Linked DNA regions of Homo sapiens: all the other regions are linked to region 4. The links are contacts of gene promoters, found by promoter capture Hi-C in human tissues and cell types (Jung and others, 2019). All regions are on one chromosome and are shown on one strand. The core of a region is centred on a gene start or on the middle of the fragment in contact, and the rest is flanking DNA. Distances in the headings are between cores, read along the strand shown. Region 1 overlaps STARD13 (StAR related lipid transfer domain containing 13). Region 2 overlaps LINC00423 (long intergenic non-protein coding RNA 423). Region 3 has its middle 130 kb from the start of LINC00423. Region 4 holds the start of KL (klotho). Region 5 overlaps STARD13 (StAR related lipid transfer domain containing 13).

Region 1 (2,806 bases), core at 121-2,620, 150 kb before region 4:
CCTCGGGCATTTATTCTTTGTGTTACAAACAATCCAATTATACTCTTTTAGTTATTTAAAAATGTACAAATAAGTTGTTATTGACTGTAGTTACCCTGTTGTGCTATCAAATAGTAGGTCTTATTCATTCTTTCTAATTTTTTTTTGTACCCATTAATGATCCCCACCTCTCCTCCAGCCCCCACTACCCTCCTCAGCCTCTGGTAACCATCCTTCTAATCTCTATGTCCATGAGTTCAATTATTTTGATTTTTAGATCCCACAAATTAGTGAAAACACGTGATGTTCCAAAGGGAGTTTTCTAGAAGGATTCCTGGCTGCCCACTTCTTCTCCACCATGTTATCCTTTTCATCTTCAGGATCTGAGCTCACCACATTCCCTGGGCTGGAGGGGTGCGAACTCTTTCATAGGTCACTTCCCACTCTCTGTCTTTGAGCTTTCTAGGCTGCAGAGCCCCTGTCTTGTGGGTCTTCCCCATTTGTTCTTCATGGCCTGGCTCTCTGGGACTGTCTTGCTGAACACTACATTTTCATTGTAGTAAAGGTAATAATAAAACAGAAAAAGGCATAGGATTCATGTAATGCCAAGAGAAAATATAATATTCTGTGCTTCTCTCCAAGACTTGCTGACTCATAATTAGGTTTAGAGCATGTCTAGAAATTAGGTGTTTTCTCGTTACTATCCGCTGTATTATATGGGAGCGGGAAGCAAATCTGAGCTTGAAAATCTATTAGGCAGCACTTTATCCATGACTCAGGAGCAACTCACCACATTTTCCACACGTTACAGATGGAATGTATGTTTTCCTATTTCCTCTGAAATACTTGTGTGGTTATCAAAGTAGGAACCTTCAAATACAGACTCTCAACTGGGTACTAAATAGAACTTTTGAGCAATGCAATAATTGCCTTTTGTACCTTCCCAGAGGAAAGCCCAAGTTAGCCCAGGCAGCACAATTCAGCTAAGCTGTGTTTTGAACAGCAGTTGTGGAACTCAGAGACTCCTTTTCTGATAGAAATGCTTTCAATAGCTTTTCTTTCCAGCTTGGTTCCCTGGATGTTTCTGAACCATGTGTCCATGGCAGGAATGGGTACATGGTAGGAACATGCTGGTCACACTTAAGTGGAAAACCCTCACACAAGAGACAAATCTCAAGCTTTTGAAATCATCAGTCCCTGGAGTAACAGTAGATTAGGGGATGACAGAAGAGGCAGGCGTTCCGGGGCAGGAGCCACCACAGGCTCTGTTTCCTTGGATTTAATGACAAAGTTCAATCTAGATTTAACCAGATCTGTGGAACTAGGCGGTAGGGTTTTGCTCTTCCTGGTGATGCCTGAGTAAGATCTGGCCTTTGGTCTATTTTCCTAACATATACCAAATAGCTCTGGCACATCAAACATCTTACTGCACAGACACTGAGCTTTCAATGTTGAGGTACAATCGCAGGCCCAGGGTGATGTTAGTGTAGATCATTTCTGTGCAGTGATCCCAAGAACGCCCTGTACACTCCAGCTTTGGCTATGGGGAAAAATTAGCATCATAGTAAATGGAAATACAATGACCTGACAGGGACCCATCCTAACAGCGGAGGAAAGGGCCTTGGTAAAGACTTGTGATAATAGGCTGTTTAATTTTGTTTGGAGAGACTGGACTTTCAACAGATGAACTTCTTTCCCCTTGGATTCATATTTGTCTAACAGAGTTGTGGTTGGGAAATGATCCAGGATTCACAAGGTCAAAAAGTGACCTGGTTCACATACTGTAGACTCCTCCTATCTCACTCCACAGCTTCCCCAGGCAGGTGGTCCGGTGGGCTGTTGGTGCATCCACACCAAAAATGGTCACCCAAGGGACATATCAACCTCTTGGGCTTGGCCCTCAGAGGTTCTGGCAGGCTCATCAAACTCAAGTCTCAATTCCAAATAATCAACTTTCCTCTTCTATGCCGCACTCTACAGCTTGAAATCATTCCAATGTGCTTGATTAATGAACATTTTGTTATAATGCATGGGGAATTAAGGCTATTAGTGAAATTTTTAAAACAATAATACACTGGATTTTAGCTTTTTTTCATGAGAAAATACATTTTCATAGGCAATCTAGTTGTAGTCTTTCTTAAAGTTATCCCAAGAGTGAAAGAATGAAGGAATGTTGAATAAACATTTTTAGCCTAATCTTTGGAACTTAAAAAAAAAATTCCATTAAAAAAAAAAAGAATTGTAAAGAAGAATGCCCTCTTTTCCCCTAGTGCCCTGGTTCCCTGGTGTATAAATAAGACATTTTTCCCTGCCTGAAATTCAGCCTTTGTCTTCTATGATCTGTGGTTTTGTTATTATCCACATACTTATGGATCTACATTGAAGATTATCTTAGCAGACACATAACAAGGACCTTTGTATTACCCGCTCGTTTTCCACCCACTCCCGGGTAAGCCTACTTATGCAGACTTACCTGGAACAATTTTGCTTTGTAATAACTTGCACAAAGCTCACCAGTGTCTCCATGATTAAGAAGGCAGAGTACTAGGGTGCGGCTGTGGGACTCACAATTTTATCTCTCTTGTGTTTTTCAGAAATTGAGGCAAAAGAAGCATGTGACTGGCTCCGTGCTGCCGGGTTCCCGCAATACGCTCAGTTATATGAGGGTACGTCAGCCCTTCGCTTCGCTCTTACACAGAGAATAAATCCAAAATGAACCACACGTATCCTGTGGTGTGTTTTGACTTCCAGATTTTTTTTTCTCGCCCATTTTGCTTCGCTTTCTTTTTCCCTCGGCCTTTTTGCTATGCCCAGGGGTTATCCTGAT
Region 2 (2,700 bases), core at 66-2,565, 190 kb after region 4:
TATTCCATCTGAATTGGAGTTGAGTTTTGCCCAACATTCCTTACCACATTGTCCATGAAAAATCAACTGTTTGAGAATATAAATGTAATATTTGCTTCCAAATACCAAGAAAGATAAGGATAAGAATTTATTAAGAAAGATAAATAATTTGATCATTAGTTTTTTAAAGGCCTCTAAATGCCATGAGGAAGCACAAGCAAATCCCTGTAAGATTTTAGGGCAGGAAGGGATGATTTCAGGATGAGATCATCAGGGGAGACTCCAGGTGGTGATGAGCCTTTGAGCTGGGCCCTGAAGAAGAGGACGGATTTCCATAGGCAGAGACGAAGCTGTAATAGAAAGCGTCAGAGGCAGAGAAAAACCAGAGCAAAGATCGCCCGGGAAGAAAGTGCATTCCAGGGACACAAGTCATCACAAAACATCCTTCGGGACAGAGTTTGTATGAAGCAGTAGCATATGACAAGGCTCGAAAGGGAGACAGTTTTGCAAAGCCCATAGAGTTGTCATATTTCATCAAACCTAGGGCACCATAGATTATAAAGCATACCATTATGTTATGTCCCAAGGCTGCCAATTAAACTATGACAAGCATTGACTGTAAGAGGCATCCCCACTTCGAATTGCTCAAATGTACCCAAACGTGTCTTAGAATTGACAAAATTCAGGAAGTGAAGAGACTGGAGCAGTGAAGTGGGGACAAGAAGGCATAAAAGATATTTTAATAAAGCAAGCTTGGTTGGCTTAGGATAAGGAGAATTTGCTCTTATACCACAGCCATGAGCAAGGCAAACGTCTGTGGGAAATGGGACCCTAAAATTTCAGCATCCCACTCACAGTCTGTTAGCACCATGGAGAATGGCACCACTGCCCTGGGGCTGTGCAGCTTGACCCTGCCTTCTCCATCCTGCCCCAACTGTAGCAAACGTTTCACAAGCGCCTCTGCCGGGGAAGGAGAGGGCGAAAGCTCAGAAGCACAGTCTGCTGTCTTCTCCCCGGGGCGACAGTCCACGTCTCGAGAGCGCGCCGGCTCCCAGGGCTCTGCTCCCCTGTCTCACTGTGCACGGCATATGAAAACTGAAGAGGACAACGGGCTGTTTCTCAATCATGCATTTCCTAAGAGAACCAAAGGGAATTTCTTCTATTTTCGTTCTTATAATTTAAAAAAAGGACCTTAGAGTTCTGGCTTTGTAGCCCAGAGAAACCTATGGATTTAATCATCAAGAATTATCAGTAGACAGAAAGGGGTAGTTGTGGACCTTAAGGTTTGACCAGAAAACACCCCGTCTGAGCCCCCACTACCCCACTCACCCCCCAACACACACATATACACTCATACACACACATACACACACACATATACACGTGCACACACATAGACACACACACGCACACACACATATACACACACACATATACACGCACACACTTACCCACTCACACACATACAGGCACATGCATACACACACAAGTACACACATACACATATTACATGCATATGCACATATAAACACATACGTATCACATATATACACAAATACATACACATATACACATGCATGTTACATATACACACACATATACATACACACACAGTGAGACACTTGCAGGTGAAAAGCAGGTATTCTTTTTGGTTCTGAGATGTTAGGTGTCAGGAGATTTTCAGTAATAATCTGGAAATGGGTGATTTTCAATTTACTTTATGCAAGTTTTCTCCTGGCTATGCATTTGTCTACAGTGACATTAGAAGCAGCAAACCAAGGACTTACATGCATATTTCATTAGTAGATAATTACATTCCTTATAATTGGTTTCTAAATCAGACCATTTCACACAATTATGGTGTTTCCTTTGCCTATTCAGTCAATCAAAAAGATAGTAAGAAAGTTCTTTGTTATCAAAATGGCATACTCTTAACCTCTATTATGGACTGCAGGAGATAAACAAAAATAAAAATACAACAATTTTGCATACATAGAATACTCCTTGTTAAAATGCATCCTAGATACAAAAGAACGAAGGAGAACACTACAAAGATGTTTCTAAATATATCCAGAGTAACAAAATGCCAAGAGGGGAATTTGATAGTAGGGGCAGATTTTTTAAAAAAATCAATAATGAAGTCATGCTGTTTAAATGCCAAAATCATTTTTCACCCAAATGAAAAAAGAAAATTGGGCCATAATGACAGCCGCAAAATAGCTCCTAACAAAGGAGCTACAGGAGCCTGTACTTGGAAAAATCTAAGTGTATTTATTCCTGCATTGATTCCACAAACATTTCCTGAGCACTGTGCTAGGTGCCGAGGACAAAGCAGTGAGTAAAACAGTCTCAGCACCACTGGAGCTTCCTGCTCACCCCAAGCTCACACACAGGCACACACTCACACACTCATACATTCATACACACACACACACGACTTCATGAGCCAGCACACTGGTGGCGTGTGGAGAAGTTCTCAGCAAGGTGGTGTAAGGCAGCAGTGAAAAAGCATAATTTGTGTAAATCCCACCTTTACTAAGTAACCTTGGGTGACTAGCTAACTCTTTGTGCCTCAGTTTTATCGTCCGTAAAATGGAGATAATTCAAATACACCTACTCACACAGTGTTGCAAGGATTCCACAAATTAATACACGTAAGCACCTAAAACAGTGCTTGGTGTAACATAATCAGCACTATAAGTGTTAGCTCTTACAATATTA
Region 3 (2,726 bases), core at 192-2,691, 240 kb after region 4:
CCACCCAGCTTCCTTCATATCAGTAAATGACACCACTCACTCAGTTTCTCTGGCTCAAAGTTTAGGAGTCATCTTTGATTCATCTCCCTCACGCTTCCATATCCATCAGCAAAGGGCTACTAACTGTAACTTCAAAATACATCATGAATCCAAGTACTTATCACAATTTCTATCACTCTTATTGTGAAATGAACAAATTGTCTAGACTACTAATATAATTTAACTAAACTGGGGGGCTTCTATTCTTACACTCTATTAGCCATTCTCATCAATAGCCAGAGTAGTATTTTTAAAAATTAAAACAAACCTTACCACTCTCCTACTCAAAGCCTACAATGGATTCCCATCAACTTTTGAACAAAATTACCAAGAGACATCATAGGTGTGATCTGGCTCTTTCTTATCTCCTTTCTATCCTACCCCTTCCTTCAGCTTTTGCTCAATTCAACTCCAGAAACATCAGCCTTCTTGAAATCCTTGATGCACAAAGTTCATTCTTGCTTAAGGACTTTCATACTTATTCTTCCCTCTGCCTGGAATACTCTTCTCCCAGATATTCATAAGGCTTGATGCCTCACTTAATTGAAGTCCATGCTCAGATGTTACCTTCTCAAAGACGCCGCCTTTGACTACTCTGTGTCAAATAGCATTCCTGCTGGGGAGCTGGGCGGAATAGCCTGAATGAAATCTCCTGCAGGCTTGCTGTGCTAGTCTGTCATATAATGCATGTCTTACCATTAAGACATTTGAAACAACCAGATTGAGTCTAACTAAAGTTGCAACCCAGGCTCAACTCTTGAAGTCATCAATCTCTAGAATGCCTAAAAGAAAAAAGGGCAAATCTGCTCTTGGGAGAAAAATCACATCAACTTCAATCCTTTAGTACTTTTAATTCAATGTCCTCAAATAAGAAAAAAGTTACAAGATCCACACAAGGAAGGAAAAAATGTGACCAGGAAAAGTTTGATGGATGTTCAATAGAAAAAAGAGTTAAAAGAATCAGATCGACAAATGATTGAGAAGTTGTAGTTAATTGGTAAAGATTTGGACTATATAATTAAGAGAAAAGGGGAAAAGATGAGTAAAAAGAGACTTTCAACAGAGAACTGAAATCTATAAAATATTATTAACTGGACATTCTAGAACTGAAAAATACAGTCTTTCGTTTGTTTGTTTTAAAGACAGAGTCTCACTCTGTTCCCCAGGCTGGAGTGCAGTGGTGTGATGATTTCAGCTCACTGCAACCTCTGCCTCCCAGGTTCAAGCGATTCTCCCACCTCAGCCTCCAGAGTATCTGGGATTACAGGCGCCCGGCTAATTTTTTTATTTTTAGTAGAGACAGGGTTTCACCATATTGGCCAGGCTTGTCTTGAACTCCTGACCTCAAGTGGTCCGCCCATCTCAGCCTCCCAAAGTGCTGAGATGACAGGTGTGAGCCACCACACTGGCCTGAAAAATACAGTATTTGAAGTTAATAACTAATTGAAAAGTTAACGGGAAGAACAGACAGCAAAAGAAATCTGAAGATGGATCAACAGAAATATCCAAAATGAAGCACACAGAGAAAAAGTGGAAAGAACAGAAAATACACTTAAAGGCAGATGGGATACAAGCAATCTAATAGATTTATAATTGGAATGTCAGAAAGAGAAAATAGTGTAGAATATGTGAAGAGATAACAGCCAAAAATGTTTCAAAACTGATGAAAGACATCAACCAGTCAGTAAACTCCAAGCAAATTAAATAAAATGAAAATCATACCTAGGCATACCACAGTCAAAGTGCTGAAAACAAGAAATTTTAAAAAAAAAGAAGAAAAATGAACTAAGATGATAGCACATAATGATTCTTAAAAAAAGAACAGAGCAAAAATGGAAAATCTATGGGTAAATATGAGAACATGACTATTCAACAAGGATACTGTAGCATTTTTATACTGAAAATAGACAACAACTTTAGCACAAAGGCTAGAGAGGCAGATACAGCTGAATTGTTTTAAACTTTTTGCATTGTTCGGATGGTGGCAAAAGCATTAATCACAGACTATAATAAGCCAAACATAAATACTGTAATTCTAAAAGAATAACACAATCAGGTTTAACTAAAAAGCTAATGGAAGAGATAGAATAATAAAAAGCACTTTAAATGAGCCAGAAATAGGCAGGAAAGGAGAAAATAAAGGAGAGACTGGCATAAAAGAAAATAAATAGCAAAATGGTAGATTTAAAATCAACTATATAAGTAACTACACTAGAGCTTAAACACTATTAAAGAACAAAGATTCTCAGATGAAAGAACAAAATCCAAGTATAAAATGTTTACATGATACACATTTTAACCATGAGAACGTAAGTATGTTGAAAATAAAAGGAAAAGTTTTATCATGCAAACAATAGCTGAAACAAAACTGATATGGCTACATTAATATCAAGCAAAGTAGATTAAAAATATTCATAAAGATACCAAGTGACATTTTAAATTATAAACCATATCACTTCATCATGAAGATATAACAATCCTAAACTGTATGTTTCAAAGTATATAAAATAACTTCTCCACCTATCATTAGTACTTTCTATCCTGCTTTTCCTTTTTTTCACTGCATTTTTCACAATCTGACATCATATATTAATTTTTTTTTTCTTATTCACCCACCTCTAACATAATGAAAGTACCACAAAAGCAGGGACTTACACTATCTTGATCACACTTTATCCTCTGCAAAA
Region 4 (2,700 bases), core at 117-2,616:
CTCCAAACACAGTTTAAATCTGACTCTCCGGGAGTTGTGTTTTGACACTTTCACAACAGTGTGAACTTGTGCCACAAGCAAGACAGATCTTATTGGATTAACACTGAACTCGTGACAGCTCCAGAGAGTAATGCTATCTGTGCGGCTTAAGAACAAACGTGTTTCTTTCATCCACCCTGCTCATTCTCTTCCTGCAGTTACTCCTAGCAAATCCTCCCCGCCCTCACCTCTAGGAATTCCTCTACACCCAGAGAAAGGAGTTTCTTTCCTCACTGCGGAAACCTATCACCGCTTCCTTTCCACAGATGGACTCCAAGGGGCACTCACTCGTGTGCCCACTAAGGGATTTCTCTCCTAATTCCACGCCTTCCAAGGGAAGTCAGAACTGCTCAGTTTCCCCCGGTGACCACATACACGTGTCCAAGTGAAGCCTCGTCTGGGGGAGACTCAGTTCCCACACTTCCCCCTGGCCCCTGTGGAGGCCCTCTGTCTCCCCTGCGTGGCCCTCCGCCTGGCCCCTCGCACTCACCAGGAGGAGGTTGTGCGCCACCAGGTACCCGAGCCGCGGGCTGCCCCGGATGCCGGGGGCCAGGCGCCCGGTGGCGTAGCCGTGCCAGGCCACCACGTAGGGGTTGTCGATGGTGATCCAGTACTTGACCTGACCGCCGAAGTGGCGGAAGCAGAGCTCCGCGTAATCCCTGAAGTGGTCGGCCAGGGCGCGGTTGGCCCAGCCGCCGTAGGCGTCCTGCAGGCGCTGGGGCAGGTCCCAGTGGTACAGGGTGACCACGGGCTGCACGCCCAGCTCCCGCAGCCGCTCCAGCAGGCGCCGGTAGTAGCGCAGCCCCTCGCGGTTGGGGACGCCCGCGCTGCCATTGGGGAGCACTCGCGCCCACGAGATGGAGAAGCGGTAGTGAGTGACCCCGAGCTCGCGCAGCGCCTCCGTGTCGCGGAAGACGTTGTTGTAGCTGTCGCTGGCTACGTCCCCGGTGGCGGGCTGCAGCGGCGACGGGGCGCCCAACGGCAGACTGGCGTTCCGGGAGTCTCCCGGGGGTGCCAGGGGGTGGTGGGTGAACGTATCCCAGATGGACGCACCCTTGCCGTGCTGCTGCCAGCCGCCCTCGGTCTGGTAGGCGGCGCTGCCCACGGCCCAGAGGAAGCCGTCGGGGAAGGTGCCCTGGAAGAGGCCCGCGGCCTCGGGGGCAGGAGGCCGCGAGAAACGGGCCCAGGTCTGCGCGCCGTCGCCCGGCTCCGCACGCAGGCGGCGGCCGCCCAGGCCCAGCAGCACCAGCAGCAGCGACAGCGACGGCGGCGGCGGCCGCGGGCGGCGCGGCGGGGCGCTGGCGGGCATGCTGCGCGGGAGCCAGGCTCCGGGGCCCCGCGCCGCGCCCCTTTATGCCCGCGCCCCGCCGCGCCCGCCCGCCCACCGCCGGCGCGCCCACCCCCGCTCCCCGGCGGGCTCCGCTGGCAATAATTACCTGCGAGCCGGGACTGCCTCCGCCCTGGCACTGGGGGCGGGGGCAGGGGCGCCGAGGGCGAGGGGTGCCCGGGAGGGGCGCGGCAGCGGGCAAGGTGCGGCAGGCGTCGCCCGCGGACGTCGGAGAAAGGCACCTGTTTCTCCCAGCTCCCGGGAGCCGTGCAGGACGTTTCGTGGACGCTCAGGTTCATTCTCTTTGCCTGCCGCGCGTCCTCTGAGAGCAGCCCTGGAGCGGCTTCGTCGGGGAGAAAAGGCGCCGACCAACTTTCCCCGACTTGGGGGCGGGATCCTGCCGGGCCCTAGCGGAGCGCGCCGCTGGGGAAGCACCTGCTCTCACTTTTCTCCCACTCGGAGGCCCAAAGAAGCTCCGGCTGGACATTGCTGGAGCCAATTAGGGACTGGCCGAAATCCTAGAGGGACTGCCAGGTGGGACAGCCGAGGGGGAACTTCGCCGTGCGCTGAAAGGGATTCCCCCTTAGGTGAGATGCTCGCGGGGAGACGCGCCCACCCGCGCCCCTCTTTCGAGGAAGACAAAGTAGATTTATGGGTTGCGTTGGGACTGGGGTTTTGCTCTCCCTTTTACTGTTACCTTTTAATAATTTCAAACCAGCACTCTATCTTTGATTAGATCTCTCAGAATACCCTGGTGAACTTCAAATCACAGTCGTTGATTGTTCTCCTGAAAAACCAAACACCAAGTTTCCAATTTTGAGTAAATCTCATTCACCTTTATTATCCTTTGGCATCTGTGTTACCTTTCGGCTCTGACTTAGCAGGTAATCTGTGCAAAGTTGTGCGCACAGGTCTGCTGGAGCGGGAGGTCCCTGGGTCGCACATTTGCCATCTGAGCTGTGGAGGGAAAGGGGAGGGAGAATTTAGCCGGAACACCCATTCCCATCCTCTACAATACAATGGAGCCATGACGTTTTTCCTGTTGCCAAAGAGCCCTTTTGACAGAAGTTGCAGAGCCACAGTGTCCATTTGGATGTGGGTAGATAGGATTGTGGCTAACCGAAATACAGTTGGTGGAGACTGAGAAGGTCTAGGCTCCACCTTTGTGATTTGGGGCAGGAAACCTCTGTAAGCCTAAGTTTCCTCCTCTATAAAATAAGGATGTCCTGTCTGCCCTGCCGCCTCAGAGGCTTGTGAAGTCCAGTGAAAAACTGCGCAAAGGTGACTCAAAGACAGAAAGCCCAGACAAGTGAAGGATCTTGCTAATATCCCTA
Region 5 (2,715 bases), core at 154-2,653, 170 kb before region 4:
CAAAGAAAAATACACTTAAAAAGCTGAAAACCGCGTATATAGTTTTTGACATGACCTTACTTTAGTAATTGTTTATGTCGTAACTTATTAAAATAAACATACCTTGTAAATTGTTTACAAAATCCCAACATCTTTTTGGAAATGAGTATAATAAGGCATTGCAGTAATACTTGGTATTTTGTTTTTGTATTTTTGAAAGCTGATATTTTGGGTTTTTTTTGAATGCTGGTATTTTTAAGACTGTGTAATTTATATTCAGTACTTTAATAAACGGGTGTAGTGGCCGGGTACGGTGGCTCATGCCTGTAATCCCAGCACTTTGGGAGGCCAAGGCCGGTGGATCACAAGGTCAGGAGTTCGAGACTAGCCTGGCCAACATGGTAAAACTCCATCTCTGCTAAAATACAAAAATTAGCCAGGCGTGGTGGTATGTGCCTGTAATCCCAGCAACTCAGGAAGCTGAGGCAGAAGAATCGCTTGAACCCTGGAGGCGGAGGTTGCAGTGAGCCAAGATTGTGCCATTGCACTCCAGCCTAGGCAATAGAGTGAGACTTGGTCTCAAAAAAAAAAAAAAAAGAAAAGAAAAGAAAAGAAAACGAAATGGGTGCAGTATTCCAACAGTACATCATTTATTTTTCATCTCTCATGGTGGTGGTGTTAAGAACCACATGCTTAAAAACCCTTGGGGTTTTGTTTTCATGCCTGGCTCAGGAAATCCTTAAAATATATTTTATTATTTTTTTTGAGACAGGGTCTTTCTCTGTGACCCTGGCTGGAGTACAGTGATAGGATCATAGCTTACTGCAGCCTCTACCTCCCGGGCTCAAACAATCCTCCCACTTCAGCCTCCCAAGTAACTGAAGCCACATCCGGGCTAAATTCTTTTCATTTTTTTTTGTAGAGACAGAGTTTCATTGTGTTCTTGAACTCCTGGCCTTAAGTGACCCTTCCTCATTGGCCTTCCAAAGTGCTGGGATTACAGGCATGAGCCATCACACCCAGCCTATCCTTAAAATATTTTTAACTAAACCAGATTTAGGGTAAAATAAAGCCCAAATTGGTATTCACTAGCCATGATAGACCTTTAGCCAAATATTTAGTCATCAATTAATGTGAACTTCCTGGGTGATTATAGGGTATCTAGTATAATGAGAAAGTTGTTTTGTCCCAAAAGGGGATCAGGAAGCTAAATTTTAAAATAACATAAATCTAGAGTTAAGTTTGGGATCATCATTTTTACAATAGTATATAAAATGGCTTAGAGTGGGTTGCAGTTGAAAGTAAGATGCTGTTTCAGGTGGTACATTTCAATCAGTGACTTCTGCTGAACTCCTGCTAGAAACTGGGATCACCCGGGCAAGGATGAACACAGGGAGGACACGGGGCAGAGGACCATTTTGTACATGAGAGAGTAACTGAGTCAAGCAGAAAACTGTACTTAGATGAAATTGAGAAAGGCGTTGAAGTTTCTGATTAGCGAAATAGCTGTGAACTGGGCCCTGTCCCACAGCAAGGGCACCCATATAGAACAGGAAGGGCACACAAACAGGTTCCTTCTTTGTGGGAGGGAGGTTCATACACAGCAGCAAGATGACCAGCTAGAAGTGTCCAGAAGTACTCCTGCTAGCCTATGAAAGTGCCATCGGAAGGACTGAATTTGTTTAGGAATTTTGAAAGGACGACAAACCAGAGAGTCCCTTCCCTTTCCTCCTGCTTTCCCTCCTTCCTCCGAAAGGAGGAAGGAGGGAAAGCAGGAGGAAAGGGAAGGGACTCTCTGGTTTGTCGTTCCCTTCCTGCCCTCCTGCTTCTTTTCCTGACTTCCTTCCTGCCATTCCCACTTCCTCCTTTCCTTCTTTCTTATAACTGAAAGTTGGTTATATCTAGCCATTAAATACTAGTTTTAAAAGATACAGCCACTTTGGAGATTCTAACCAAATTATAAACATGCTTTCTATCACCTCTCAAAAAATATTAAAGTAATAAAAAAAGCTTTGTTTGTAGTTCTTCCTTATGGTTTTATATGAAGCATCGAGCTATTCATGACACTACTTTTAAGCAATTAAAAGAAACAAAATAAAACATTTCTAAATGACAAAAGAAAAGCATAAATACAAAGTGTGAGAGTCATTGACTTATACCTGACAGACACTAAATGTCTGCTCTAATAAGCAATAACAATTAGTTTAAAAAGGAAACACCAAATGTCACTTCACAGCTTAAGCCTAGAAAGCAAAGTTAGCCGGAAAATAATTACAAAAGTCTAAGGGATTTCATGGGTTTTGTTATTAAGGCAAAGTGTCTTTTCGTTTGTCATTTTCACCAACTAATCTGACAGATTCTTTATGAAGAAAGCACAGAGCCAGGAAATTGTACCCATCTGGTCAGTACCTGCTCAGAGGATCTGATATTAAAGTCTAGATCACTCCAAACTGCTTTTTCAATGCATTTCATTTTCTAGAAGTGACGAACAGTGAAACAAACCTATTCAGTCAATTGAAATAGTTATTTCGGGGAGAAAATTGAATCCTCTTCAAAAGAAGCTGTTTCACTATCTTAGTGTGGTGAGTATTGAAAGTTGGATGGTTTCCATGAAAACAAAAATGGACATAAAAGACAAAAGAGTTTGTGAGTGATATTTACAGTGAAGTTGAGTATGTGTGCATGTGGGTGGGTGGGTGTGTGTGTGTAGCAGCAGATCATAACCAGAAATTTTTC

The links. Contacts are between HindIII fragments. The study calls those that stand out against the background at their distance.
Region 1: a fragment that was not itself captured here is called in contact with the fragment with the promoter of KL in region 4 in 2 of the 25 tissues and cell types used here (lymphoblastoid cells and spleen).
Region 2: a contact is called between a fragment that was not itself captured here and the fragment with the promoter of KL in region 4, in 2 of the 25 tissues and cell types used here (IMR-90 fibroblasts and lymphoblastoid cells).
Region 3: a fragment that was not itself captured here is called in contact with the fragment with the promoter of KL in region 4 in 2 of the 25 tissues and cell types used here (IMR-90 fibroblasts and heart left ventricle).
Region 5: a fragment that was not itself captured here is called in contact with the fragment with the promoter of KL in region 4 in 1 of the 25 tissues and cell types used here (lymphoblastoid cells).

Annotation. Positions count from the first base shown.
Region 1 is chr13:33,167,390-33,170,195 of GRCh38, reverse strand. STARD13 (StAR related lipid transfer domain containing 13) reads left to right here. Exons shown (of 14, transcript NM_178006.4): 2 at 2,574-2,645. Among named protein-coding and RNA genes, the nearest start is that of STARD13-AS, 110 kb to the left of the region's middle. The HindIII fragment of the contact is 7,483 bases long and covers 1-2,806 here.
Region 2 is chr13:32,822,522-32,825,221 of GRCh38, reverse strand. All of the region lies in intron 4 of LINC00423 (long intergenic non-protein coding RNA 423), which reads left to right. Among named protein-coding and RNA genes, the nearest start is that of LINC00423, 88 kb to the left of the region's middle. The HindIII fragment of the contact is 7,635 bases long and covers 1-2,700 here.
Region 3 is chr13:32,778,373-32,781,098 of GRCh38, reverse strand. No RefSeq gene overlaps it. Among named protein-coding and RNA genes, the nearest start is that of LINC00423, 130 kb to the left of the region's middle. The HindIII fragment of the contact is 9,113 bases long and covers 1-2,726 here.
Region 4 is chr13:33,015,089-33,017,788 of GRCh38, reverse strand. It overlaps KL (klotho), which reads right to left and starts at 1,366. Exons shown (of 5, transcript NM_004795.4): 1 at 530-1,366. The coding sequence starts at 1,348. It overlaps LOC124903151 (translation initiation factor IF-2-like), which reads left to right and starts at 1,336. Exons shown (of 2, transcript XM_047430819.1): 1 at 1,336-1,953. The coding sequence starts at 1,347. RefSeq lists enhancers at 341-400, 609-1,186, 1,187-1,762 and silencers at 471-570, 1,261-1,330. The HindIII fragment of the contact is 14,739 bases long and covers 1-2,700 here.
Region 5 is chr13:33,188,450-33,191,164 of GRCh38, reverse strand. All of the region lies in intron 1 of STARD13 (StAR related lipid transfer domain containing 13), which reads left to right. Among named protein-coding and RNA genes, the nearest start is that of STARD13-AS, 88 kb to the left of the region's middle. The HindIII fragment of the contact is 4,720 bases long and covers 1-2,715 here.